Linked DNA regions of Homo sapiens: regions 2, 3, 4, 5, 6 and 7 are each linked to region 1. The links are contacts of gene promoters, found by promoter capture Hi-C in blood cells and fetal thymus (Javierre and others, 2016). All regions are on one chromosome and are shown on one strand. The core of a region is centred on a gene start or on the middle of the fragment in contact, and the rest is flanking DNA. Distances in the headings are between cores, read along the strand shown.

What was found. Contacts are between HindIII fragments. The CHiCAGO score rates a contact against its expected background, and 5 or more counts as called.
Region 2: a contact is called between a fragment that was not itself captured here and the fragment with the promoter of PLCL1 in region 1, in 2 of 17 cell types (M0 macrophages and M2 macrophages). The highest score is 8.8, in M0 macrophages.
Region 3: a fragment that was not itself captured here is called in contact with the fragment with the promoter of PLCL1 in region 1 in 14 of 17 cell types (M0 macrophages, M1 macrophages, M2 macrophages and 11 more); the score reaches 26.5 in M0 macrophages.
Region 4: a contact is called between a fragment that was not itself captured here and the fragment with the promoter of PLCL1 in region 1, in 1 of 17 cell types (M0 macrophages). The highest score is 5.6, in M0 macrophages.
Region 5: a fragment that was not itself captured here is called in contact with the fragment with the promoter of PLCL1 in region 1 in 17 of 17 cell types (M0 macrophages, naive CD4 T cells, M1 macrophages and 14 more); the score reaches 52.3 in M0 macrophages.
Region 6: a contact is called between a fragment that was not itself captured here and the fragment with the promoter of PLCL1 in region 1, in 5 of 17 cell types (M0 macrophages, M1 macrophages, activated CD4 T cells and 2 more). The highest score is 9.7, in M0 macrophages.
Region 7: a contact is called between a fragment that was not itself captured here and the fragment with the promoter of PLCL1 in region 1, in 5 of 17 cell types (M1 macrophages, M0 macrophages, activated CD4 T cells and 2 more). The highest score is 12.4, in M1 macrophages.

Annotation. Positions count from the first base shown.
Region 1 is chr2:197,803,294-197,806,880 of GRCh38, forward strand. It overlaps PLCL1 (phospholipase C like 1 (inactive)), which reads left to right and starts at 1,300. Exons shown (of 6, transcript NM_006226.4): 1 at 1,300-2,046. The coding sequence starts at 1,807. It overlaps LOC105373828 (a long non-coding RNA gene), which reads right to left and starts at 1,253. Exons shown (of 4, transcript XR_001739850.3): 1 at 416-1,253. RefSeq lists a silencer at 1,347-1,476. The HindIII fragment of the contact is 1,428 bases long and covers 893-2,320 here.
Region 2 is chr2:198,205,948-198,209,495 of GRCh38, forward strand. No RefSeq gene overlaps it. Among named protein-coding and RNA genes, the nearest start is that of LINC01923, 170 kb to the right of the region's middle. The HindIII fragment of the contact is 7,841 bases long and covers 1-3,548 here.
Region 3 is chr2:198,280,838-198,284,249 of GRCh38, forward strand. No RefSeq gene overlaps it. Among named protein-coding and RNA genes, the nearest start is that of LINC01923, 93 kb to the right of the region's middle. The HindIII fragment of the contact is 6,399 bases long and covers 1-3,412 here.
Region 4 is chr2:198,223,647-198,227,404 of GRCh38, forward strand. No RefSeq gene overlaps it. Among named protein-coding and RNA genes, the nearest start is that of LINC01923, 150 kb to the right of the region's middle. The HindIII fragment of the contact is 4,801 bases long and covers 1-3,758 here.
Region 5 is chr2:198,303,632-198,307,410 of GRCh38, forward strand. All of the region lies in intron 2 of LINC01923 (long intergenic non-protein coding RNA 1923), which reads right to left. Among named protein-coding and RNA genes, the nearest start is that of LINC01923, 70 kb to the right of the region's middle. The HindIII fragment of the contact is 756 bases long and covers 1,771-2,526 here.
Region 6 is chr2:198,184,344-198,187,858 of GRCh38, forward strand. No RefSeq gene overlaps it. Among named protein-coding and RNA genes, the nearest start is that of LINC01923, 190 kb to the right of the region's middle. The HindIII fragment of the contact is 1,199 bases long and covers 873-2,071 here.
Region 7 is chr2:198,263,409-198,266,984 of GRCh38, forward strand. No RefSeq gene overlaps it. Among named protein-coding and RNA genes, the nearest start is that of LINC01923, 110 kb to the right of the region's middle. The HindIII fragment of the contact is 5,198 bases long and covers 1-3,576 here.

The sequences.
Region 1 (3,587 bases), core at 50-2,549:
AATGTCAAATCTGAAACCTCCCAAGTGCCCCTGCCAGTTCTGGCTGGTTGTAGCCCAGAGGAGACAGATAAAGTAGTGAAGAGATTATCGGAGGAGTTGGGTGGCTGATTCTAATTTTGGCTCCTGCACTAACTAGTAGACAAGACTCCCTGGGCCTTTGTCTCAACCGTAAAACAAAAATGATGTCCTAGTTGATCCCTAAATCCCCATATATCTCTAAAATTATGAGATTCAAACCAAATTGTTGGTCTAAAATGCTGAATAATTTCTCATGCTGTTAGCCAGACTAAGGAACAAGTAAAATCTCAAATTATTAAATTATTAATAAGATAAAATGTAATGTTATAAGTGAGGTTTAATATAGATTCTAATATCAAAGGAGTTTAAAATTAAAATGCCAAGTCTTTTGTCTTACCAGGGAGCCTTAGGACCATGGTTTGCATCTGAGCATTCTGTGGATAATTTCAGTGACTTAACTCATCATCCAAAGATCTCTCCCTTCTTGGTTGCTAGCTTACTGGAAATGAGCAAAATATGTTTTTATATAGGATTATATAGAGAAAGGAGGCTGAACCATTGTCAAATAGGAATGTTTTAGGATAGAGACTAAACTCCCCACCTGCATTTATCTGACTTGGATTATATCTGTGCTTTTTAAGAGTCAGTCTTCGGAGGGATTTAGTTGGTTCAGTTTCCTTTCACCCTCATCTCTTTCACTGACTCCCTTTCCTTGTTATATTTACTCACACTGCAGAATGACCTTAGAATCCTTTCCTGGAACCTGAAGCAAATTATGGAACCCCAAGATCCCAGTAAACCCTAGTTTATCTCTGCATGGACTTGACTTCTAAGAATTGGCCTGAGAGCCTGCAATTAACCTGTGACCACGCAAAGCTTCACCCCGTCACCCCAAACGCTTAGACATTCATACTCAATACCCACTTTCCTCCAAATTGCTTTGTTTGGCAGAAGAAGGTTTCTTTCTCCCCTCTCCTTCACCCAACCTGGATTTTTGTTGCATCTCAGGCTCATTTCGCAAATCTAAACTTCCTAAAATATACACGGAGCGCCTCCGGGTTTGCACACGCGCGCGCGCGGGTACACCCTGGCTCGAGTACATTAGCCCCGCTGGGCCGGCTCCCAGTTGCAGAACACATTCCATTCTTCGCGCTCGGGCACACCCCTCCGCAGTGAGGATTGGTCGGGCCGAGCCCCCTCGGCGAGGCGAGGCTCCTAAGAGGCCCAGACGCCTGCCAATCCCCAAGGGCTGTCAAAACAAGTCTCCCTCCCTGTCACAACAGAGCTGAGTGGAGGCCGCCGCCGCCGCCGCACTTCCTGGGACCGCTGCGCCGCAGTCCGCGGGCAGGTGGCGGGTGCGCCCGGCCGCAGTCGCCCGGCTCTGGCCCCTATCGGGCCGCCGGCGTCCGGGCTCCAGAGGCCGCCTGGCTGGGCGCCCGGTGCCTTTTGTCTGGCGCAGGGCCGGCGTTTGCATCACATTTCGGATACCTCCCTCTCTTTTTCGCCTCTCCTTCTGCCTCCCGCTCACATCGCCTCCCCACTCCCGCCACCGTCCCCCGCCGGACTGCTAGCCTCCTAGACCGAAGCCCGAGGACGTCTCTGCCCGAGCGATGTCCCCTCTCCAGAAAGTTGCCGCCGCCGCCGCCGCCGCCGCCACTGCCGCCGCTGGGCGGTGAAACAAAGTCTGGCGGGGCCGCCTCCCGGTGCAGGAGCGCACCGGTGCCTAGCGGCTGGACTCCGCTGCCGGGCGTCCCGCTTTCCCCCGGGGAGCCCTAAACGCTCCAGGCCATGGCCGAGGGCGCGGCCGGCAGGGAGGATCCGGCGCCGCCCGACGCGGCGGGGGGCGAAGACGACCCCCGAGTGGGCCCGGATGCCGCCGGGGACTGCGTGACGGCGGCCTCTGGGGGCCGGATGAGGGACCGTCGCAGCGGGGTCGCACTGCCAGGCGCCGCGGGGACCCCAGCGGACAGCGAGGCGGGCCTCCTGGAGGCAGCACGGGCGACCCCCCGGCGCAGCAGCATCATCAAGGTAAGCAAAGCCGCGCCGCACCGGGAGCGTGGCTGTGGGTGATGGGTGGGTCAGGGACCCGGGCAGGATGTGCGGTGTCCGGAGGCATCCGGGCTCAGCATTGTTTTCTCCCACCTCCTTCAACGCCAAACCTTCCTTCCTTATCCGGAGGTTCCCAGACTCAGCTGTCAGCCACGAGACGCACAAGTGACTTTTTCTCCCCACTGACGGCAGAGGAAAAGTTCCGCTCTGCGTCTTTGCGTTCTGATGGATGCTTTCCCTCATTTTCTCTGCAAGCTTCACTAAACCGTTGATGGAGGGAGGAAGGGAGAACTCTGGATAAATGCAGACCCACCGGATGGTTGTGCATTGCTTTCCAATGAAGGGTTAGCTTTTCCCATACAATGAAGAAAATGCACAGCTTACTCTCAAGTGTAAAAAAAGAATCCCTCTAGACTTAAATGATCCCGAAATCCCAAGATGTGTGAACTTTCCCGGTAGGGAGGCAGAGTTTTAAGTGGACCCTGCATCACAGTAAAGAGCAATGCAAGAGCCCAGAGTTTTTGCGCTGCAGAAAGCACAACCGGAAAGCAATCAATCCCCCAAGCATTATCACTGGTCCTTGTGGTTACCACCACATCCAGGGAAAACGCTTCCTGACCCGCTAATCACCTCACAGAATTTCTCTCCATCCATTTGGCAAGGAATTTGTAAACCTCTTTCCTCCCCTTTCTCTTTCCATCTTCCTTCCACTTGGGGCTTGTTTCTTCTGTTCGAGATTTCCTCTTTTGGGAGCATGACTTTGGGGTAAGGTTATTTAGGAAAGAACCCTCGCACAGGCTCTGGAAAAGGGCCTCAGTGTAAATGCATGTGAGTAATCAATCAAATGTATGTCAGATTAAAATTGATTTTGGTGGAGCAGTCAGTATAAAACGATATGTATGTATGTATATATGTAAGTATATATGTGTGTGTGTACATACACACACACACATCCCTCAATGACAATGAAAGATGGACTTTTACTTACTATTGAATTTATTGGGTTCACTAATATATTCAAAAGCTCTGTTCAGGGTTAAGCTGCGTAACCAGTGCATCACGCATGTTGCAAGCTCCCAGCACCAGCTTAGGTAGACTAACCACAGAATGTGGCTCCAGTAAAGTCTTTTTCCCAACACTGACACATGGAAGTTTAAAATCAGTGGAGAGGTTTCTATAATATATAAAGAAGAGTGGGTGGTAATTACAAATGGCTTGTAGTAGTTTCTGTTATTTTGTGGCTTTTTGATTATGTAACAGGAGTGTTCTATTCTGGGTGTGAATTTGGACAAAGGGAAATTACTATTTTGTTTTTAACCCACAGGTCAGAAAGCACACTGTTTTCAAACTTAAAAAACATCACAATTAGGAAACACATACATTTTGGATTCTACTGTATTGATACTACATGGTGTCCTGTGTGTGTAAAACAGGCACTGCAAGAGACTTTAAAATATATGACAATAAAGAGCAAACGGCTCTATAATGTTGTAAAAAACAAAAGTAATGGAGTATAAGGA
Region 2 (3,548 bases), core at 247-2,746, 400 kb after region 1:
AATATTTGTAATCCTTCTGTATTCCAATTTAACCCGCCCTCTCTGTTTTTAGGTCTTCTAGTAGTTATCATAATTTTCACATGTTTATACCTCTATGTCTTGAGCAAACGGTTGTTTGAGGTCTGAATAATCAAGGCAGGTTTTCTTGGACAGTACATACACAAGTGAGAAGCAGGTGGGCAGGCTGGGACCACCACAAGCATCAAGGTACAGAGGACATTGGCAGTGTTTCATTACTGGGTAGAGCTACGTTTGCCTCTTTCTGCACCCCCTACCCCATGTCTACTAGAGTGGTCCTAGTAGACATGAGGGAGAATGAGAAGGACAGCACAGTTACCTCCAGCTCTGCATTTTTTCTCTTTCTCTTTTAAGCACTCATAACTGTCAATAGAATGACCATAAGCAGGCAAGTGAATATGAAAAGAATATATAATTTTATTGTTCAATAAACAGATAGTGGTGAAATAAAGTTTTGCAATAAAGAAGCCCAGAATTCTACCCAAATGGAACAGCAAACACTGGTAAAGGTAAAACTTGACAGATACCTTGCATATTGACTTGGTTGGCAAAATACATTTTAACTAAAAGGTGTGGACTTAGGTTTGCTCATTGACATCACAGATTGTGAATAACTATGAGAAAAGGGCTCATAGTATTCACCTGTGGCTTAAGTAGACTCATCCTGTAATTTACCTCAGATCCCATGTCCTGGCCTAGAACTTTTGACAGATAAGGCACCTATCACCATCCCAGGCCTTCCACCCAACCACCTCAGTTTTGTTGAGACGGTAAATCCTCTCCATTTTTAACAACAAAAATATTTAAGCACTAGTGGAGATGAGTCTTTTCTCCATTGCTTGTTTTTTTCAGCTTTGTTGAACATCAGGTATTTGTAGGTGTGTGGCCTTATTTCTGGGCTCTCTATTCTGTCCCATTGGTCTATGAGCCTGTTTTTTTGTACCAGCACCATGTTGTTTTGGTTACTATAGCCCTGTAGTATAGTCTGAAGTCAGGTAATGTGATGCCTTCAACTTTTTTCTTTTTGCTTAGGATTGCCTTGGCTATTTGGGCTCTTTTTTGTTTCCATATGAATTTTAAAATAGTTTTTTCTACTTCTGTGAAGAATATCATTGGTAATTTGATAAGAATAACATTGAGTCTGTAAATTGCTTTGGGCAGTATGGTCATTTTAATGATACTGATCTTTCCTATCCATGAGCATGGAATGATTTTCTATTTGTTTGTGTCTTCTCTGATTTCTTTGAACAGTGTTTTGTAATTCTCATTGTAGAGATCTTTCAGTTCCCTGATTAGCTGTATTCCTATGTATTTTATTCTTTATGTCGTAATTGCGAACGGGATTGCCTTTCTGATTTGGCTCTCAGCTTGGCTGTTGTTGGTGTATAGGAATGGTAGTAATTTTTGTTGTTGATTTTGTCCTGAAACTTTCATAAAGTTCTTTATCAGCTGAAGGAGATTTAGGGCCGAGAATATGGGGTTTTGTAGATATAGAATCATGTCGTCTGCAAACAGAGATAGTTTGACTTCCTCTCTTCCCATTTGAATGTACTTTCTTTCTTTCTCTTGCCTGATTGCTCTGGCTAGGATTTCCAATACTATGTTGAATAAAACTGGTAAGACAGGGCATCCTTGTCTTGTGCTGGTTTTCAAGGGGAATGCGTCCAGCTTTTTCCCATTCAGTGTAATGTTGGCTGTGGGTTTGTCATAGATGGCTCTTGTTATTTTGAGGTATATTCCATTAATACAAATTTATTGAGAGCTTTTAATATGAAGCATGTTGAATTTTATCGAAAGCATCTTCTGCATCTATTGAGATAATCATGTGATTTTTGTCTTTAGTTGTGTTTATGCAATGAATCACATTTATTAATTTGTGTATGTTGAACCAAACTTGCTTGCATCCTGGGGATGAAGCCTACTTGATCGTGGTGGATAAACTTTTTGATGCGTTGCTGGATTTGGTTTGCAAGTATTTTGTTGAGGATTTTTGCATCAGTGTTCATCAAGGATATTGGCCTGAAGTTTTCTTTTTTTGTTGTGTTTCTGCCAGGTTTTGGTATCAGGAGGATGCTGACCTCACGGAATGAACTGGGTTGGGGGAAGTCCCTCCTCCTCAATTTTTCGGAGTAGCTTCTGTAGGAATGGTACCAGTTCTTCTTTGTACATCTGGTAGAATTCAGCTGTGAATCCATCAAGTCCTAGGCTTTTTGTTGTTGTTGTTAGGTTATTTATTACTGATTCAGTTTCCTCATTCAACTTGTTATTGGTCTGTTCAGGAAATCAATTTCTTCCTGGTTTAGTCTTGGTAGGTATCTTTTTTATAAATTGCCTTGTCAGTTAATTTATTATTGATCAAATGTGAAACTTTAATATGTTAAAAGGAAAACTTTTGACAAATTTAACATTTTAGCAAAAAATGATTCATAAATTGGGCACCACTTAGAATCAGAAGAGGTTCAGAGAGCTCTGCTCTGCAAAGTGCACAATGAGTGTTTACAGATGGTACATGGAAGTAAAGTATAGAAATATAGTACAGAAATAGCTTGATTGCTTAAGCTAGGTGTTTGCCTTTTTGGATATGGTCTGATCACCTGGCTGCCTGTGATTGGCTGAGGCTCAGCTGCTCACTGGCTGGACTCTGTTGTTTGTTATACTCCTCAGTTAGGTTTTCAGTTTGTTTACATCCTATGTTAGCTGTGTTTTGTTACATAGGAACTCAAAGTATGGAGAACACTTTGGGCCAATGGCCTCCTGCTTATTTAATTTAACAATATAACAATTATTAGATTCATAACAATTTAAAGAAATTGTAAGTTGAACCTAAAGGCTTAAAAATAATAATGCTACCCACCCAAGCATTAAACAAACAAACAAACAAACAAACAACTCTCAAATTAATAGAACCTTCCTCAGGCAGGTCACTTACTTTCTTTGGAAAGCAGTTCTCCTCCAAGTTATCATCTAAGACAACTTAGCCAACAGGCAAAATTTAGCCTCCATTACTGAGGCCTTGCTTGAGGATCCAGGGGCAGTAGGGAGTGGAATCACCCTCGCAAGTTGTTCAACCTTTACTCACATAGAGGGCAGAGTAAGTTGTATCCTTTTTCAGCATCCAGTTCCTGGATTGGTACCTGCCCAGCAGGAATGATGCTGCCAAAGAATTTGCATGGCTCCTTCTTTTTATTTCCCATTTATAGCGTTCCATGTGGATCTAGAGGGCTTTGATTTATGGAAGGACACATGACTTAAATTGATTCAGTCAGAACTAATCTGGAACTTTTGTGAAGTTGTTTTGAAAGAGTGGCTCTTTCTTGGGGTTACTGAGATTATTGGCTATCAGCTTGGAGTTCCATTCTGTGAGTAGAGGACTTGCCTTGGAATAAAGCCAATATACAGCAGTAAACCTAAAGGATGAAGAGAGTAAGATCTGTTGCTGATGCCTGATATTTGAGCTCCTGGATCTACTTAGCCTAAAAATTTATTTTTAAGTTGTTCAGTTACACAAGTCAGTAAGTTCCACTTTATTT
Region 3 (3,412 bases), core at 719-3,218, 480 kb after region 1:
ATTAGCTGGGCGTGGTGATGCGCACCTGCAGTCCCAGCTACTCAGGAGGCTGAGGCAGGAGAATCGCTTGAACCCAGGAGGCAGAGGTTGCAGTGAGCCGAGATCATGCCACTGCACTCCAGCCTGATGACAGAGCGAGACTCCCTCTCAAAAACAAACAAAAAACCCAAATATATATATCTATACACACACACACACACACATACACATATATATACACAAATATATATACATATACAAATATATATATATAACATAAAATGTATAATTTTAACTGTTTAAAGTGCGAGTTCAGTGCATGCATTATTGTGCACCCATCACCACCATCCACTTATCTCCAGAACTTTTTCATCTTCCCAAACTGAAACTCTGTAACCATTAAATAATGAACTCCCTATTTCCTCCCTCTCCCCAGCACCCACTGGCCATAATTCTACTTTCTCTTTCTGAATTTGACTACTCTAGTTACCTCATGTAAGTGGAATCATCCTGTATTTGTTTCTTTTGTGTCTGGCTTATTTCACTTAGTGTGATATTTTTAAAGTTCATCCTTATTGTAGCATGCATCAGAATTTCCTTGCTTTTTAAGCATGAATAATGTCCCATATATGTATATACCACATTTTGTTTATCCATCCATCTATTAATGGACATTTAGATTGTTTTCATCTTTTGGCTATTATAAATAATGATGCTGTGAACATAGGTGTTCAAATACCTGTCTGAATCCCTGCTTTCAATTATTTTCAGTGTATACTCAGAAGTAGAATCACTAAATCATATGGTAATTCTATTTTTAATATCTTGTGGAACTGCTATACTGTTTTTCACAGTAGCTACACTATTTTACATTCCCACTAACAATGCACAAAGATTCCAATTTCTCCACATCTTTGCCAACATGTGTTACTTTGTTTCAGGTTTTTTTTTTTTTTTTAATATAATAACCATGCTAATGGGTGTGTAGGGTGATCTTTTAAAAACAGAAATTAAATAATGTCTCCTGCTTAAAACTCTCCATGGCTTTTAATTACTCCTTACCATAGTCATCAGGCCTGAACATATCTAGCCCCTGCTTATTTTCCTAACCTCATCTGGTGCCTTTCCCTTGCCACTTAATATATACCCCAGCCACACTGGTGTCTGTTGACTTCCCAGGACACCCTAAACTCTTTCCCCTCTCAGGACTTGTACATTGCTCCTCCTCCTGCCAGAGCTGCCCTCACTCCGCATGAAAGGCTGCTGACCATCCTGTGGGTCTCTACCCTACCTGGGCTGCTGACCTCCTGTGGAAGGATGCCCCTCTACTTTTTTGATTCTCTCCCAGCACCTTGCTCATTTCCTTTGTAGCATCTATCACTATCTGTAGTGAGTTTCTTTCTTCACTTGTTCTCCTGCTTGCTTTCAACGGGGGAATGTAAGCTCCACGAGTTGACAGTGGCTGTCATTACTATTGCTGTCTCAGAGCCTCCAAGTGCATAATGAATGCTTATCAGTTTGGAACTGAGTCACAATGAATTCATAGTCAAATTGCATAAAGGTCAAGAAAATTTCTCACATATCTGTAACCTCTGCCTCCTACAAATATATGTTCAATTTTTCTAATTTATAAAAATAAAATCCTTCATAGACTAAATTTTTTGTCTAAAATCTTGTATCTTTTAAAATGTAATATATATGCATTTAAGAGTAAATACATAGTTTAATATTTATGTTGCTAGACTCAAAATTGCTAAAGAAATTGTAGCTAGATTGGCTTCTCTCTAACAACTGGCAATTAAAATTACTTGTATTTTTAAAAAACTGGTATAATAGATAAATTTAAAAGGTAAAAAAACCCAAATATCATATAATTTAAGCAATTTTACCTCATCAAGAAAAATATATGTAAGCTCTAACTTTTATCTGACATCACGCCTGTTTTATTCCAGTGTTCCTGAATAAATCTAAAAAACACCAAATAATTTGCCAAACAAGTTTTAAAAGTAATTTAAAGAGTAGGTGGGAGGAACATTGAGAGGTTTTAATCTTTACTTATTTTAATTCCATGTTACTCATCTTGGGTAGGAGGCTAGAAGTACCAGCTTCAAGTTATAGAGTTCATAAATTAAAAGAGTTAGTGAATTGCCTGGGATTCATTGAACAAGAAATGTTTTCTATATGGGTGATTTTAGAACTATCCCTTTGCACATTTATATGCTGGTATGTAGATGTGTGCCCACTTTATTCATCCTGCTTGGTGTTTTATGAGAAACTTCTCCCTTCTCACCTCCACTGTACCTATTCTCTTCTTCTATGACTTCTTTTGACAGACGGTCTAGCATCTGTTGTTTTACTTTTTTTCTCACATTTTCTTTTTGTTTTTTTAGTCATATATGTTTTTTGTAAAAGATGCCTTTTACTGTTTCTAACTCAGTGTTTCTCAAACTGTATTGTGCATTTGAATCATCTTGGAGACATGTTACAAAATAAATTGCTGGGCTCTGACTCAGCAGTTCTAGAGTGGGGTCCAAGAAATTGCATTTGTGACAAATTATCTGGTGATTCTGAGGCTAATGGGATGGGGCCGACAATTTGAGAGACATGCCTCTATATCCTTGCTACTCAAAGCATGTCTGAGGATCAGTATCACATGTCTAACAAGCTCCCAGGTGATGTGGAAGCTACTACATACTTTGAGTGGCAAGAATCTAAAACAGTGGTTCTCAAATTCTGAATCTTTGATGAACAGCATCAGAATCACCTGAGAGCATGTTAGAAATGCATTTTCTCAGGCCCCATTTGAGATGTATGAAATCAGAATTTGCATTTTAACAAGACCCCCGGGACTAGTACACACCCTGAAGCTGAGAAGCCTCATTCTAGATCACCTGGTCTTTACTGTGCCGATTTTATTGTACAGTCCGGCCATTCTATTTTTATTTCAGGTAAGATTTTAAATTTTATGTACTCTTTAAAAATGTTTGATTACTCATTTTCATCACAGTCTAATCTGCTTATGGATGCAATATCTTCTCAAAACATCCTGAGGCTACTCCTTATACATTTGGGCTTTTTTCCATTTTCCTCGTTATTTCTGTTCCTTCCAGTTTTCCTTATGCTGCTTATTAATCTTCTTCCTTGTATTTGTCGCTGTCCTGTGGTAAAAAGTGATCCCAGAAACCACCATGGCTCATAAGAACAAAGGTGTATTTCTTGTTTATTGTTTAGGTTGGCTGAAAGTCAGTACCAGTTCCACTCCTGCTCCCTGTATCTTTTCATCCCAAGAGGCTAAATAAGGGGGCTTAAAATGGGCTATGCCTTTCTTGAGGAAGAAGGAAAAGAGCAGGAGGACTGATAGAAACACACAAAGGCTCTTAAAAGTTTTGCTGATTCATACCTGTTACCCCAACACTTTGGGAGACTAAGGCAG
Region 4 (3,758 bases), core at 351-2,850, 420 kb after region 1:
CTGGGATTACAGGCATGAGCCACCACACACAGCCCTTACCTACTTTTTAACTTATCTACTTCCTTAAGGTGGACAACCAGATTGCTTGTTTTCTACTACCACAAAGCTCCAATGAAGATTCTTCTAGACTGTGTGATGTTCTGTGGGATGGATACCCAGAGGGAGGGATAGTAGGGTCATAGGGTATGTGCACACTTTTTTTTTTTGACTACGTACTGCCAGAATGTTACTCTCCAGAATATCTCTATTAGTCTAACTCCCAAAAGTTTAATGTAAAAATAATTTTATATTTATACATACTATCATAAACTGAATAGTTTCTACTGTCAAGCAAGAGTCAATTTATATTTAAAAGCCAACAGCAGGGTTTAAAAAAATTTCTTAAACATTATATCTAAAACAGTATAAGAATAGAAGATAAATCAGTAGACAGAATACTTTATTAAAATTATTTTCATTTATAAAAATGGGTGGGTAGGCTGGGTGCGGTGGCTCAGGCCTGTAATCTCAGCACTTTGGGAGTCTGAGGCAGGAGGATCCCTTAAGCCCAGAAGTTTGAAACCAGCCTGGGCAATGTAGTAAGACCCTGTTTCTAAAACCAAACCAAACCAAATAAAAAAAATTAGCTAGACATGGTGGTGCATACCTGTAATCCCAGCTGCTTGGGAAGCTGAGGCAGGAGAATCGATTGAACCAGGGAGGTGGAGGTTGCAGTGATGCAGTGAGCCAAGATTGTGCCATTGCATTCCAGCCAGGACAATAGGGTTAGACTCCATCTCAAAAAAAAAAAAAACAAAAAAAAAAACAGAAAATTTTAAAAATAAAAAAAATAAAAATGAGCAGTAGCAGGGGCAGTAGAGAGAACACTGCAACCTCTTGCGTCAGAGAAAACAGTTCAAATCCTGCATGTGTGAGGCCAGGCAAGCTCCTTAACCTCTCTTTGAGTCTAATTTCTTTGAGCATCAGTAAGATGGTGGTAATGATAATAATGATATTAATGTTTTTGAAAAATAGAAGTTAATGGATATGAAGCAATCAGGGCAATGCCTGGCACATAGCCCTTCTGTAGGAAATGTCGTTATTATTCTGATGAGCACCTGTGGATTTGTCCCTGTGATTGCTCATCCACACCTCCCATCTGAATGAATTTTTGTAGCACACAGAGACCTAGACTGTCTATTCAAGTTTCCTCTGTCTGCCCCCATCCCCCAGGGGCTGGAAGAGATATAAAGATAGGACAAAAGTCTCCTTGTTGTTCTTGTTGCTGTCTTGTAGAACTCAGAATGTAAAGAAGACAGGAGAACACACACATACACACACACACACACACACACTTTTTTTGTAACTTCAGGGATGACCACAGAGAATCACCTAGAGAGGGACGGCAGAGTGCAGAAGCAGCACTAGATGGTGCAGACCTCCTATCTGGATGTGGAGAGTGCAGACCTGAAGCGTCCCCAGCCCGTCCTGAACTCTGACTCCTGCATAGGTGCAAGGTGGCCTCCCTCGGCTGTCTTTGACTGCTCTCTGTCTCTGAGCCCTTCGTCTGACTTCCCATAACAACCTGCATTTCCTTTTAATAAGGCTTACCACACTGTGCCATAATCTTCACTTTCATCTTATGAATGATTAAACAGATGTGTTCAGTTATTTGGCTACACTCAGGCTTGTTCTTGCTTTCTGGAAGGTTCTGAGAATTTCAGGTGGCATGTTTGCATAATTTATCAGTTTGGGTGAGTCAGGAGGGAGAAACCAGACAAGTTATTTGGACAGTGTGAATTTCATATAGAGAATCATATGGAAAGATAACTGGAAAGGAAAAAAGAGAACACCGTTCCATCTCAGAGGCTACTGCCCTCCACTAAGGCTGGGGGCAAAAGGTACAGGTTGAAATTTCTGAAAGGCAGAAGTTTGGAGGAGAGACCTGTACAGGTAAAAGTCAGGCAGATGGAAAGACCCTGGTCCGCTGATGGGGGTACACTAAGGCTGGCTCTGCAAGTGTTAGAAAAACTGCAAACTGCATTGAGCTGCTGCTACTGCACGGAAGGGAACTGCCCTGCTTGGTGCAGTATACTGCACGGGTGACACAGGAACTGCAAGAGTACAAAAAGCAATAGGGTCAAGGAGACAGTGCTTTCCTTCTCCCCCAGTAGCACTCTTCCTGCGCCCCCTTACTGACAAAACCTAACAGGGAGTCAGCCTGCAAAGCAGAAATGGGATTCACAGAGTCTCAGGTCCAATAGCCTGAAATAGTTTATAGAAGGGTTGGTTTGAAGCTGAGAAATAATAGCATCATAACTGACACACTTCCTAAAATACTTTATGCTGAATTTTAGAAAATTAGAGGGCATATTCAAATATCCATCAATGGATGAATGGATAAAAAAATGTGGTACATATATACAGTGGATTATTATTCAGCCTTAAGAAGAAAATCCCACCACGTGCTCTAACAGGGATTAAAACTGAGGACGTTATGCTAAGTGAAATCAGCCAGCTACGAAAAGACAAATACTATATGATACTACTTATATGAGGCATCTAACATAGTCAAACACAGAGAGCCAAAAAATAGAATGGTGGTTGCCAGGGGCTGGGGGGAGAGGAAAATAGGGAGTTGGCTTAATAAGTACGGTGATTCAGTTTTGCAAGATAAAAAAGTTCTGGAGATCTGTCATACAATAATGTCAATGTTTTTAACACTCCTAAACATCACACTTAAAAACAGTTAAGATGGTCCATTATATGTTGTGTGTATATGTTTTTTTTACCATAATTAAAAATTTAAAAAAAGTGGACCTATAGGCGCTAGCTATCATATTTCTAAGGCATTTTAAATTTCTTCACTAACTTCTCAGCCTGCTTTCCATAGGTCTCTGTACACTGCTTTGTGGAGAATCCTTGATCCTTATCCCACCTTTAACTTGATTATCCCATGCTTATGCTATGGAATAATCTTTGATCTCTGCTTCATTGTTACTTTATGGCAAGTATTTACTTAATGCTTAATATTCAGAATCAAAATGATAAATACAAGCGACTACTTATGAGATATGTTTGCAAAATAAGATACAGTCATCTTGCAAAGAGGCCCCGCTGTATGGCCACTGTTAAGATTCTATATCAAGGCCGGTTATGATGGCTCACGCCCATAATCCCAACACTTTAGGAGGCCAAAGCAAGAGGATCCCTTGAGCCCAGGAGTTTGAGACCAGCCTGGGCAATATAATGAGACTCCTGTTTCTACAAAACATAAAAAAATTAGCCAAGTGTGGTGGTGTGCAACTATAATCCCAGCTACTCCAGAGGCTGAGGTGGGAGAATAGCTTGGGCTCAGGAGACTGAGGTTGCAGTGAGCTGTGACTGTGCCACTGCACTCCAGCCTGGTGAAAGACTTGGGACCCTGTCTTTAAAAAAAAATTCCATATCAATAGAATGGTCCAAAGTAAAACAAATTGTTTAGGAGACCAGCAAAAACATTTTAATTAGGTTTATAGGACACAATGTTGAAATTTGTGTGTAGTAGAGCCAGGGCTATGCTGTTCCATGGTCCATTCTCTTTGTTAAATTGCCTTATGGAGCCAGTCTTTGCCATGTTGCCTCATAAACTTTTACAGCAAACATCCCTGTAAATATTGGACACGGAGTGGGGAGTGATAGAAGGGAATGTAATTGTTTTAGTTTTAAATTTACCCTTGTCTAAATTTGTCTTTCACATACAGCACAAGGAGTGCCTATAAGTCATGAAGGCATTCACC
Region 5 (3,779 bases), core at 899-3,398, 500 kb after region 1:
TTGGCTCCTAGGAGATGAGGAAGTCAGTCTGCTTTATGAGCCCTCCTCTTTGGACCCTCTTTCTGTTTTGTCATTTGCAGCACATTGTTGAGCCTTCTTTCTACTTGGTCATTTTGTGTGACCATCAGAGGTTAAATGTGGGTCCGCTGGTTATTATACAAGACCAGAATATTGATCAGCCCTTCCTGTTCTTGATAGAGTTCCTTCTATTTCTGTGTTAGTTCAGCTCACTCCCAATTATTCTGTCCATTCTTCTTTTCTACTTACCCTGAACATATATATTATATACACACATATTTATAAACTAATATAGCAGCAAAATTTGTGCATATAATTCATATATGCATATGTATGTACATTGGTATACATATAGGCATATATACATCCCTTACCTCATGAAATAATGACAAACATAAATCCTGTTTTCATTCTTCTTTTGTATTATAAGTTTCCTTTTTTTTACTATTTCTTTTAGCTTTTCTCCTTTGACTTTGATTTTGAACTCAATCTTTCATAGATCAAATCATTCCAATTACCTAATACTATTTTTATTTTATACCTAACACTAATTTTATTTTTATTTAATTATAATGTAACAATAATAATTATTTAATATTTGAATTATCACAACTTTTCCATGAGAATTCCCTTAAGTCAGATCCTTTGATTTTTTAATCATTGTCACTATATTTTTCACATTATCCTCATTTTCTGGTACCTGCAGGATGTTCCCAACCCATTCTGAGTGTTTTCCTTTCGCTTACCAATTCTGAGTTTCCCCTCCCCACCACCTCCTCAGCCATCAGCCTTGCTGGCACAGGCTCTCCGTGATCACACCTGGGGCCCTAGGCAGTCCCTCTCTGCAGCTGTCTGTTTAGACACCTCCAGGGCAGGATATGGAATGGCTTTGCCTGCAATTCCAGCAGATCCACCAACGTCACTTTCACTGGCACCGTGAAAGCCTGCATCTTTTGCAAGACTTATATCAATTTGCAGCATGTAGCACTATACTGTTCAACATTTCCAACAGCAGACTATCTGGGGAAAAATTAATGAACAAAGCCTTGGCTTTATGTGGGGATGGACCCAGCCAGGAGCACTCCTGGAGTGGGGACTAATTTTTATAAGTTGTCAGATTACTAGTAAACACTTAATGTTATGGTGATTTTTGCTTTCCTAAACAATCTGGCATCTTCAGGAAGTCACACAATGAATGCTGGGTTAACAAAGATCTATTATACTAAATAAATCTAGTGCGCTAAATTTCAAGACTTTTAACCTAACCCAGCACTTAAAATCTAAGATTAATAATCAAGTAGAGTGGGCATTGGGAAGGCGTGAGCCACATTCCTGGGATCTTCTTTCTGAGACTGGGTATTGCCCAGGCTGTGAAAATAGGCAGACTCATGACCTGGGGCTTTCCTGTTCACACCTCAGCTCTTCCTGCTGGTGCTCAGCCTTTACTGGAGAAGGTAACTCGGTCTTTTCATCTTTTGAAGAACATGAGCACCCAGTAAGATGTCAGCAATACACATTATCAGGTTCTTTTTGCCTTCTGGTATCGGACCAGACCTGATGTGAGCTATTATACAGAGACCTTAGTGTAAGGACATCTCCCTTGGTAGTAAGCGCTGGGCTTTGATGATCTGAAGAAAAACTGAGCTGCGTCCCAGTTCTAGAGTTCCTAGAGAGAGCACACTCCCTCTCTGGAGATTCTATTTTTCCTGTAACTCATGGCAAAGTGGTCCCCTGTGGATTTTTTCTTTGCCAAGCTTCTCCCAACTCCACATCCCATTGGTTTTGCCCTAATTGTTATTTATTTAAGATAAAAGAAAATGTAATCCTTATGCACCATATTCCATAAATTTAACTAATAAAAATGTTGTTTTGTAAGAGCCTTTTGAAGTCCAAGTAAACTTTGGAATCATTTTTATGAGACTTTAAAAATCTTTCTTCTTAGGGGCAGGAAGTTATATTTTGCCAAGAATAAATGAACTCAAATAGCAAAGGGATTGGGCTTGACATGAGGTGCCAAACCCACAGTGTTTCAGTGGCTTCTGAGCTGGGCCAAGTGCGTTTTCCCAGTCCTGAGAGTCAGGACTGGTATCTAAAGTTTCAGACTAACATGTTATTACTTATAAATAATTATTTTAGTATGCCAGTTGTTCTTAATGTAAAACGTTTGGCTCCATTTTTGAACCAACTTGATTCTATAGGCAAAGAAGAACCAGATTATTGATTTCTCAAGTCATCCCTTTGTTAGTGTTTGCTGGAGTTACCTGGAAAAAACCTGCATTTAATTCCCTCTTTGCCATTTCCTTGAATGTTCTTACCTTCTTCATTCATAGTAATTTAAGATAATGTAATTTTTTTCCATGCCCACATTCTAAAACATTTTTAGGAGTGTTTCCAAAAAGAGAAGTGATGATAAAACAATATAATTAATGTTGGAAGCCATGAAAAATTCATAGACACTTCAAAGAGAGGATCAAGTTGTGTCATATGAGGGCTTATCATTCCCAAAGAAGCTTTTATGAAAGATGAATATGAAGCTGGGCGTGGTGGCTCACGCTTGTAATCCCAGCACTTTGGGAGGCTGAGGCGAGCGGATCACAAGGTCAGGAGATCGAGACCATCCTGGCTAACATGGTGAAATACTGTCTCTACTAAAAATACAAAAAATTAGCTGGGCATGGTGGCGGGTGCCTGTAGTCCCTGCTACTCAGGAAGCTGAGGTAGGAGAATCCCTTGAGCCAAGATTGTGCCACTGCACTCCAGCCTGGTTGACAGAGCAAGACTCCATCTCAAAAAACAAAACAAACTAAACTAAAAACAAACACACAAAAAAAGATGAGTATGAAAATTAATTAATAGCAAGTTCAGTTGTCATTTTAAGACAAGTTATTGATTTAAAAACAAAAATATTTCACCCGCCACCCTCTTCTCCACTTGCCGGCTCTTCGCCCATCAACAGAAGGTTTTCCAATTGTATCTTCTCGTTCACTGTCTCTTCCTGCTACCTCTGAACTTCTGTCACACATTCTATTTCAGTCTTGCTTATGGCTGCTGTTATCATCACCATTATTTTGTGCTACCACTTCCCAGGTTCTCCGTTACTCCAGATCTTTCTCTCAAAAACTCAGGCCTGATGGCCTCTGTTTTTCTTGAGTTCACTTCCTCTGTCAGTCCAGGATATCCTGTCTTCTTTCTTATCCCCTAATTCCAGCCCTACACACTCCCCAGGCACAGCCTTCCTGTGACCCTTGTCCCAGCCAGGCAGGCACCAGATCATTAACTTTAGATTTTCTGACCACTCCTCAAGGAAAGATGGAAGATCTTTTCCTTGGCTCCAGCTAGGGATGTGAACAGACACCTTCCCCACCCCCTGCAGCCCTCTCACTAATAGGTAGTCAGGATGGCAGCTTGCACCTAGGCATCTGGTGAATTCAATTCACTTCTCTCAAGTAATCACTCTGCAAGGGCCCACTGTGTGCCAGGCACTGGGCCATGTGCTTGGTAGGCAAAGATGAATCAACTAGGGGCTGATTATTATCACAGGATGCAATGCAAAGCAGCCTCCTGGAAGAGGCAGTGGTGAATTCTGCTGTGAGGGGTTGGCTGGGAAGGCTTTCAGACGCAGCAATGCTTGTACTGGATTTGCATGAGAAGGAGAAGAGAAGACAAGAGGAGACCATTCCAAGAAGCGGTAGCCACTTCTGTAAAGGCGTGTAGTAGTACACAATGGGGGTGTGGTTGAGGAAATACAAGTAATTATGTTT
Region 6 (3,515 bases), core at 222-2,721, 380 kb after region 1:
AAAAAAAACTGTAAAACTTAGTGTTTTAAAACAATTTGTTATATCACTCATGATTCTATAATTTGATGGGGCTCAGCTGGGTGGTTCTTGCTTGGTATATTTTGTGTGGTTGCAGTGAGATGGCAGCTTGGGCTAGAGTCATCTAAAGACCTGACTGGGCTGGATATCCCAGATGGTCACTCATGTGACTAGCAGTTGATGTGGCTGTTGGTGACAAGGACTCCCTACTTGAACAAACTTCAGTCAGGCTTCTCCAAGCTGTCTTCTTTGCCAGACCTCATCCTCGGCCTCTTGTTCTTGGTCTGTCCAGCCTAGTTTTATCAAGAATCCTGCCAAGTGAATTTAGCAAGAATCTTCTACCTTTACAGTTTGTCAAGTTCACCTTATTAATTTTCCATCCACTGACTTCCTTATCCTGCCCATTAGCTATAAACCCCCAGCTACTACTGTTGTATTCAGAGTTCAGTTCCATCTCTCTTCCCTATTGCAGTAGTTTTGAATAAAGTCTTTCTTGCCTGCTTAACTTATTTGATGCAATTTGTCTTTGAAACTGGCTAGGAAGTCAGCTTGGGCTATCAACTAGAGTACCTATGTGTTTCCTCTCCATGTGGCTTGGGCTTCTCACTGCATCACAGTCTAAGGGTAGTTGAATTTCTTACATTGCCGCTACTGTCTCTCAGAGGGAGCCTTTCAAGAAGACTGTATGGATGCCAGGCATGGTGGCTGACACCTGTCATCTCAACACTTTGGGAGGCTGAGGTAGGAGGATTGCTTGAGCCCAGGAGTTTGAGACCAGCCTGGGCAATATAGTGAGACTGCGTCTCTAAAAAAATAAATAAGTAAATAAAAAGAAGACTATATGGGAACTGCAAAGCTTCATATGACCCGAGCTCATAAGTCTCCCATTGTATTCTATTGATCAAGCAAGCCACTAGGGCCCACCTGGATTCAAGGGGAGAGGAATTGGACAATACTGCTCAATAAGAGAAGTAAATAATTTATAGACATATTTAATCTACCGTAGACTATAAGGAATAAAAGGAAAACACACCAAAAAGTGGCCTAAATAATAAGACTACTTACTATACTGTATACCTAGAAGTTTGAAGGTAGGGCAATTCTAAGTTTGCCTCAAATGTCAACAGAGACACTTTTATTTCTGTTATCCTCTTTTGCTGATTCTGACAGTGGCTGCTTGGTTCCAAGTAATCTTACGAAGACAAGAATATCCAGAGGTAGAAAAGGGGAAATATTCCTGTTTTTGCTTTTTTTGATTTTTAAGAATAATGAAAACCCTTCTAGAATCATCCCAGTTGATTTCCCCTCACTTATAACTGGACAGAATTATATTATACATTCATATTTAAACCAATTACCTGGCAAGAGAATAAAACAACCATGAATGGCTTGAATCAGTCATGATTCAGTCCCTGGGCTGAGGGTAACCTCAATAAGAGAACATAGCTACTCAGAGAAAAATGAACAAAATTAGGGCTTCATCAGGACCAGGTCCCTGAGCAATGTAACAATGCCAAATGTCTCCTGAGGTTAGATACGAAGCCCAGGCTATGAGGTCAAACCTTTGAAAATCCATTAGGAAGGTGTCATGGTAGAGATCAACACACCGTCTCTTACAAGTCTGACAAAGTGTTAGAATGGATTTCTGTTTCTATAATTTAGCACTAGATTAAGTACCTACGTTTAGATGCCTTACTCTACAAAAAATTAAATGTTTGAAGCGATTAGTTCAGCAAGATGTTTATATTGTGAGAGGCATGTGGGTATCAAATGGCTAAGGGAACAATGGATATATATCTCCCATTTGTGCATGGAAAACAATGTAGCAATTTCCCATTTATTCTCTTTCTTTCAAGTCTCCTCTCTTTACTCCTTCTCCCCCACTCCCACCCCCACTCTCTCACTCCCTGTTGTGGAGTAGAAATAGGTGAATGTGTAAAAGCGAAGTGTATATACCATGGAGCTCTACTGTCCACCATGTGGTTGTTAGATCCCTCTAGAGTCTCAGCCATCTTTCCTCTCTGGAAAGCCTGGGCTAACTATGCTCAAGGAAAGCTTTGGAATCCCCTTTATTTCTCTCTCTTGATTCTGGCAAGCAGCCAGCTTTCCTTCTTCTCTGCCCTGCTCCAGTTCCTTTTAACTCTTCAGAATCAAAAATAACCTGCAGACTGAAGGTATCCCCAGCCCCCAAGTGGACCTCCAGCTGACAAAGTGGCCACTAGAGACCCTAAAACAGCTTCCCAGGGCTCTTAAGTCAGCTTTTCCCCTCTACAAGATTTTAGTAAACTTTTTATGGTGCCAGGCTCTCTGCTAGGTGGCAAGGACACTGTGGTAAATAAAACTTAGTCATAAATCACATTCCTTCTAAAAAACAAACGAGAGTTTAACCTAGTGCCACCTGTCTTTGTACCTCATGGAGCACATAGGAAAATTATATTTTGTATTACACACCTGGACTTGTGCCATATCGTAGCCCTTATAGACGGCTCTCTGTAGATTGCTATTCATCCAAGCTTACTAGCAAGATAAGAATTCATGTGTTTAGGAAACATTCAGAGAGACCTTTACGAAAATACTTGTCAAGCATAATTTCAACTGTTGTAAATTTGGAAATGACTCAGTTTTGTCACCACTGAGAAAAAGTACAAACATCAATATCTTGTGGCACACCTGTTATCTATTTGCAGAACCTCTAGTTTAATGAATTCTTTCATTTTTCCCTAAAATCTGACCCATAGCCCTCTAAACATTTTAGGGAAGGAGAAAGAAGGAATTCACCACATCCAGGCTGGGCACTGTCCTGAAGCCCTCGTTGCCCTTCTCTATGGTGGTCTTTGGTGTTTGTCTTCATTATAAGTTGTTGACTTTCATTTCTATTTTTAAATTTTTATTTTTTAGAGACAGGGTCTTGCTTTGTTGTCTAGCCTGGAGTGCAGTGGCGTCATCATGGCTCACTGCAGCCTTGAACCTGTGGACTCAAGTGATCCTCCTGAATAGCTGGGACTACTGGCATATGCCACCATGCCCAGCTAATTTTTTAAATGTTTTGAAGAGATGGGGTTTTGCTATGTTGCCCAGGCTGACCTTGAACTCCTGGCCTGAAGTGATTCTTTCACCTCAGCCTCTGAAAACACTGGGATAACAGACATGAGCCACAGAGCCCAGCCTACTTTCAGTTCTTTTAGTTTTCTAACAGTAGGGACAATAAAGCTAGCTCAGGCACAGCCCAGGCCCTCCTTGTCCCTTACTCTTGTCTGCATAGCACCTTCACCTCTGCTCTCTTCTCCATTGCCAGGCTGCCAGCCCTCACCTGTCTCTGCTGTATGGCAGTACCTACCCCCACTGCATCTGTGTTGAGTGGCAGTGACCTTTGTGGTGGGCACACATGCTGGTGGGGAACTGACCATGGTGTGGTTAATGTCTGTGTGAGTGGGAAGGAGTTAGGAGCCATCAGAATCTTTTATTTCCCATTTTCATCCATGACAATAAAGATATGG
Region 7 (3,576 bases), core at 743-3,242, 460 kb after region 1:
GAGTAAATTAATGTTAGAAAAACTGACTATGCTTCTGTAAGTTTGTGTATTCTAAAAGTTGTTAGTGGTGGTATACTAATATACATTCCAAATTTTTAAAACCTGCAATTTTGTAAAGTTGCAGAGTCTGAATTTGAAAGATTAGAAAGATTAGTAGACAGATTCATTTGCTAATGGAGAAACCCATAGAGTTCTCTTCACAGACTTTTCTGATTTTCGTTTTGTCAGAAATCAGTATAGTGACAAAGAAGAAACCTGATGCATATCTTTAGGAATGAATTGGTTATTCTGCCCAGTCTGCCAGATGAGGTTGTTGATTTGCTAAACTACTATTTGTGGAGAGATTTCAGTGAGTTTAGAATCAAACCACTTTAAATCAATTTAAATGATATAAAGATTAGCAGTCACCACTTTGAAAATGCACCCCCTCCAAAAAAATTATAACACATATTTTATTTATTTATTTTTATTTTATTTTATTTTTTTTGAGGCTGAGTCTCACTCTGTCCCCAGGCTGGAGTGCAGTGGCGCAATCTTGGCTCACTGCAACTTCTGCCTCCTATGTTCAAGCAATTCTCCTGCCTCAGCCTCCCAAGTAGCTAGGATTACAGGATGTACCACCACACCTGGCTAATTTTTGTATTCTTAGTAGAGACGGGGTTTTACCATGTTGGCCAGGATGGACATATTGTATCTTGATATTGGAGATTATGATCCCTGTGGTCTATCACTTAGGATATGGTTCAGCTGTGGCGATTAAGAAATAATACTAGCTTAAATAGTAAGGTTTCTTTCTCTCCCAGAAATAGGGAGTCTGGAGTTAGGGAATTCAGGGCTGTTCTGGCATCTCCCTGGTCTCCTTCTTCCTGCCCCACTGTCTTAGTTGCATCTTAAACATTCGGTTTGTGCCAGCTGCAAGAAAGAAGGGAGATAGGGACCGGGCACAGTAGCTCACTCCTATAATCCCAGCACTTTGGGAGGCTGAGGCTGGCGGATCACTTGAGGTTAGGAGTTTGAGACCGGCCTCGCCAACATGGTAAAACCCTGTCTCTACTAAAAATACAAAAATTAGCCGGGTGTGATGACTCATGCCTGTACTCCCAGCTACTTTGCAGGCTGAGGCAGGAGAATTGTGTGACCCTAGCAGGTGGAGGTTGCAGTGAGCTGAGATGGTGCCACTGCACTCCAGCCTGAGGATAGAGTGAGACTCCATCTCAAAAAAGGAGAAAGGATGAAAGAACAAAATATTCCTTCTCCCAGCTGAGTCAGTTCCCATAAGCAGCCTTCCCAGATGTTCCACATGGGAGTTCAATTTATATATCTGACCACTGAACTGCATGGGTATACCTAGGTGCAAAGAAAGCTGGAACTTCAGCCTTGTAGCTAAGTGCGTTGCTGAACCAAAGAAAACTGGAGTTCTGATGCTAAGAAGGAAGGGGCATGTGGATTGGGGATCTCTGTCAATAAAGAAAACAGACATACAAGAGGAAATTAAAATTACTGTTTAAATAATTTCATTTCTGAAAAATGCTACAAAGTAGAACATTCTATTAGAGAGACCTAATTTCCATTAAATTTATATTTTGTGTTTTGTTTTCTTTTGAGAAGAAGTCTCACTCTGTCATCCAGGCTAGAGTGCAGTGGCGCCATCTTGGCTCACTGCAACCGCTGCCTCCCAAGTTCAAGAGATTCTCCTGCCTCAGTCTCCCCAGTAGCTGGGATTACAGGTGCGTGCCACCACACCCATCTAATTTTGTATTTTTAGTACAGATGGGGTTTCACCATGTTGGCCAGGCTGATCTCGAACTTTTGCCTTCAAGTGACCCACCTGCTTTGTCCTTCCAAAGTGCTGGGATTACAGGCATGAGCCACCGTGCTGGGCCTTGTGTTATTTTAAACAATATGCCAGAATCTGTGATTAAAATGGTTTAAATCTGTTGCATGCACTATTTTAAAGGCTTTTGGGGAAAGCCCACTGGCCCTTGTTAACGTATACCATTTTATCTCTGTGTTACATCCATCTTGATAACTTTATAACTTATTATTTTGCTGCAAGTTCTTGTGTGATTTCCTGAAAAATGTGTAGAACCTCCATTAACTTCATCACTATTCCCTTTTCATCCCATCCCATAATGCCTGTTAGGCCAGAACAATGACATTTGTAAATCAGAGGTTGTTTAATAGTTGAGTAGCACTGTTATACTTTCTTGTCTAATAAATCATAATCGAGGTTGGCAAACTGGTAATTATCTGGTCTGTGGCTTGGTTTATTGTCCATCTATTTCCTTCATAGGCCAGTTGTCTGAAGAAAGTGCACACAGATAAGGAAGTCTGCATAGACTTCCAATCTTTGAAATCTTATGGGTATAGGACTTGTTAACCTTATTTTGCAAAACTTTATTCATGATTGGGATAGCTCATGATTTTAACTGATCCAAGTCAGCTTCTCTAGAGATAAGTTCCTAGAGAATAGAACTATGCAGAGTTCTCCTGGCCCCAGATGCCACATATGACAGTAATGTGTTTTTTTGTTTTGTTTTGTTTTTTGAGGCAGGATCTTACTTTGTCACCCAGGTTGGAGTGCAGTGGCATGATCATGGCTCACTGCAGCCTCAACCGCCCAGGGTCAAGCAATTCTCCCATCTCAGCCTCTTGAGTAGCTGGGACCACAGGCATGTGCCAACCATGCCCAGATAATTTTAAAAAATTATTTGTAGAGAAGGGATCTCACTATGTTTCCCAGGCTGGTTTTGAACTCCTGGGCCCAAGTGATCCTCCTGCCTCAGCATTCCACAGTGCTGGGATTACAGGCCAGCGCCACTGTGTCTGGTACCAATGCATTTTGTAAAGTTTGATTCATTATGTCAAAAGATAAGTTATTCTCCTAAGCCAATCTCTCTTTTTTATTTATATATCACAGCTTTATTTGAAATAACCAACCAAAACTATAAACAGACAGAATGAAACATCGTCTCCACATCATATTGTAGTGAGCTTTTAAAACATGGGCTTTGGAGTCTGAGGATAAAGAGTCCTAAGTCTGCTCCCTTCTGACTTTCTGATACTAGGCAACTATAATTTCTCTGACCCTGTTTGCTCACTGTCACTTCTAACTGGATCCTATTTTGATGACCAGACATTGCCATGTGTCAGTGATTGTATTAAGCACTGGGAAATAACTGTGAACAAGATTAAAGTAGTTTTGGCCTTTATCTAAGTTGAAACTGGGGTTGCAAATTCCATTGCTTTCTTAGGTCAGGCAGGTGACATAAATGCCTGAAGGGAGTGAGGATGGGGGAAATACAAAAATCAGGGAGAGATGGTGATTGTGGCTGAATTTGAGGCTGCTGCTCATCAAAAGGTATTCAGATTCAACAGTTTTGAAACCCTAGATAGTCCTAACACTACCCCTACTATGGGCGCATTGCTTTAGCAGTCTACTTTATGGTCCTATGTTAAGTACAGAAGGAATACAGGCGATTTTCATATACTCCATAGGCACCTTCTCTGCTTGGGTGCTCTAGCCTGGAAATTAAGAGGAAGATTATGAATGCCACTATGTTTGGATCCCAGTTT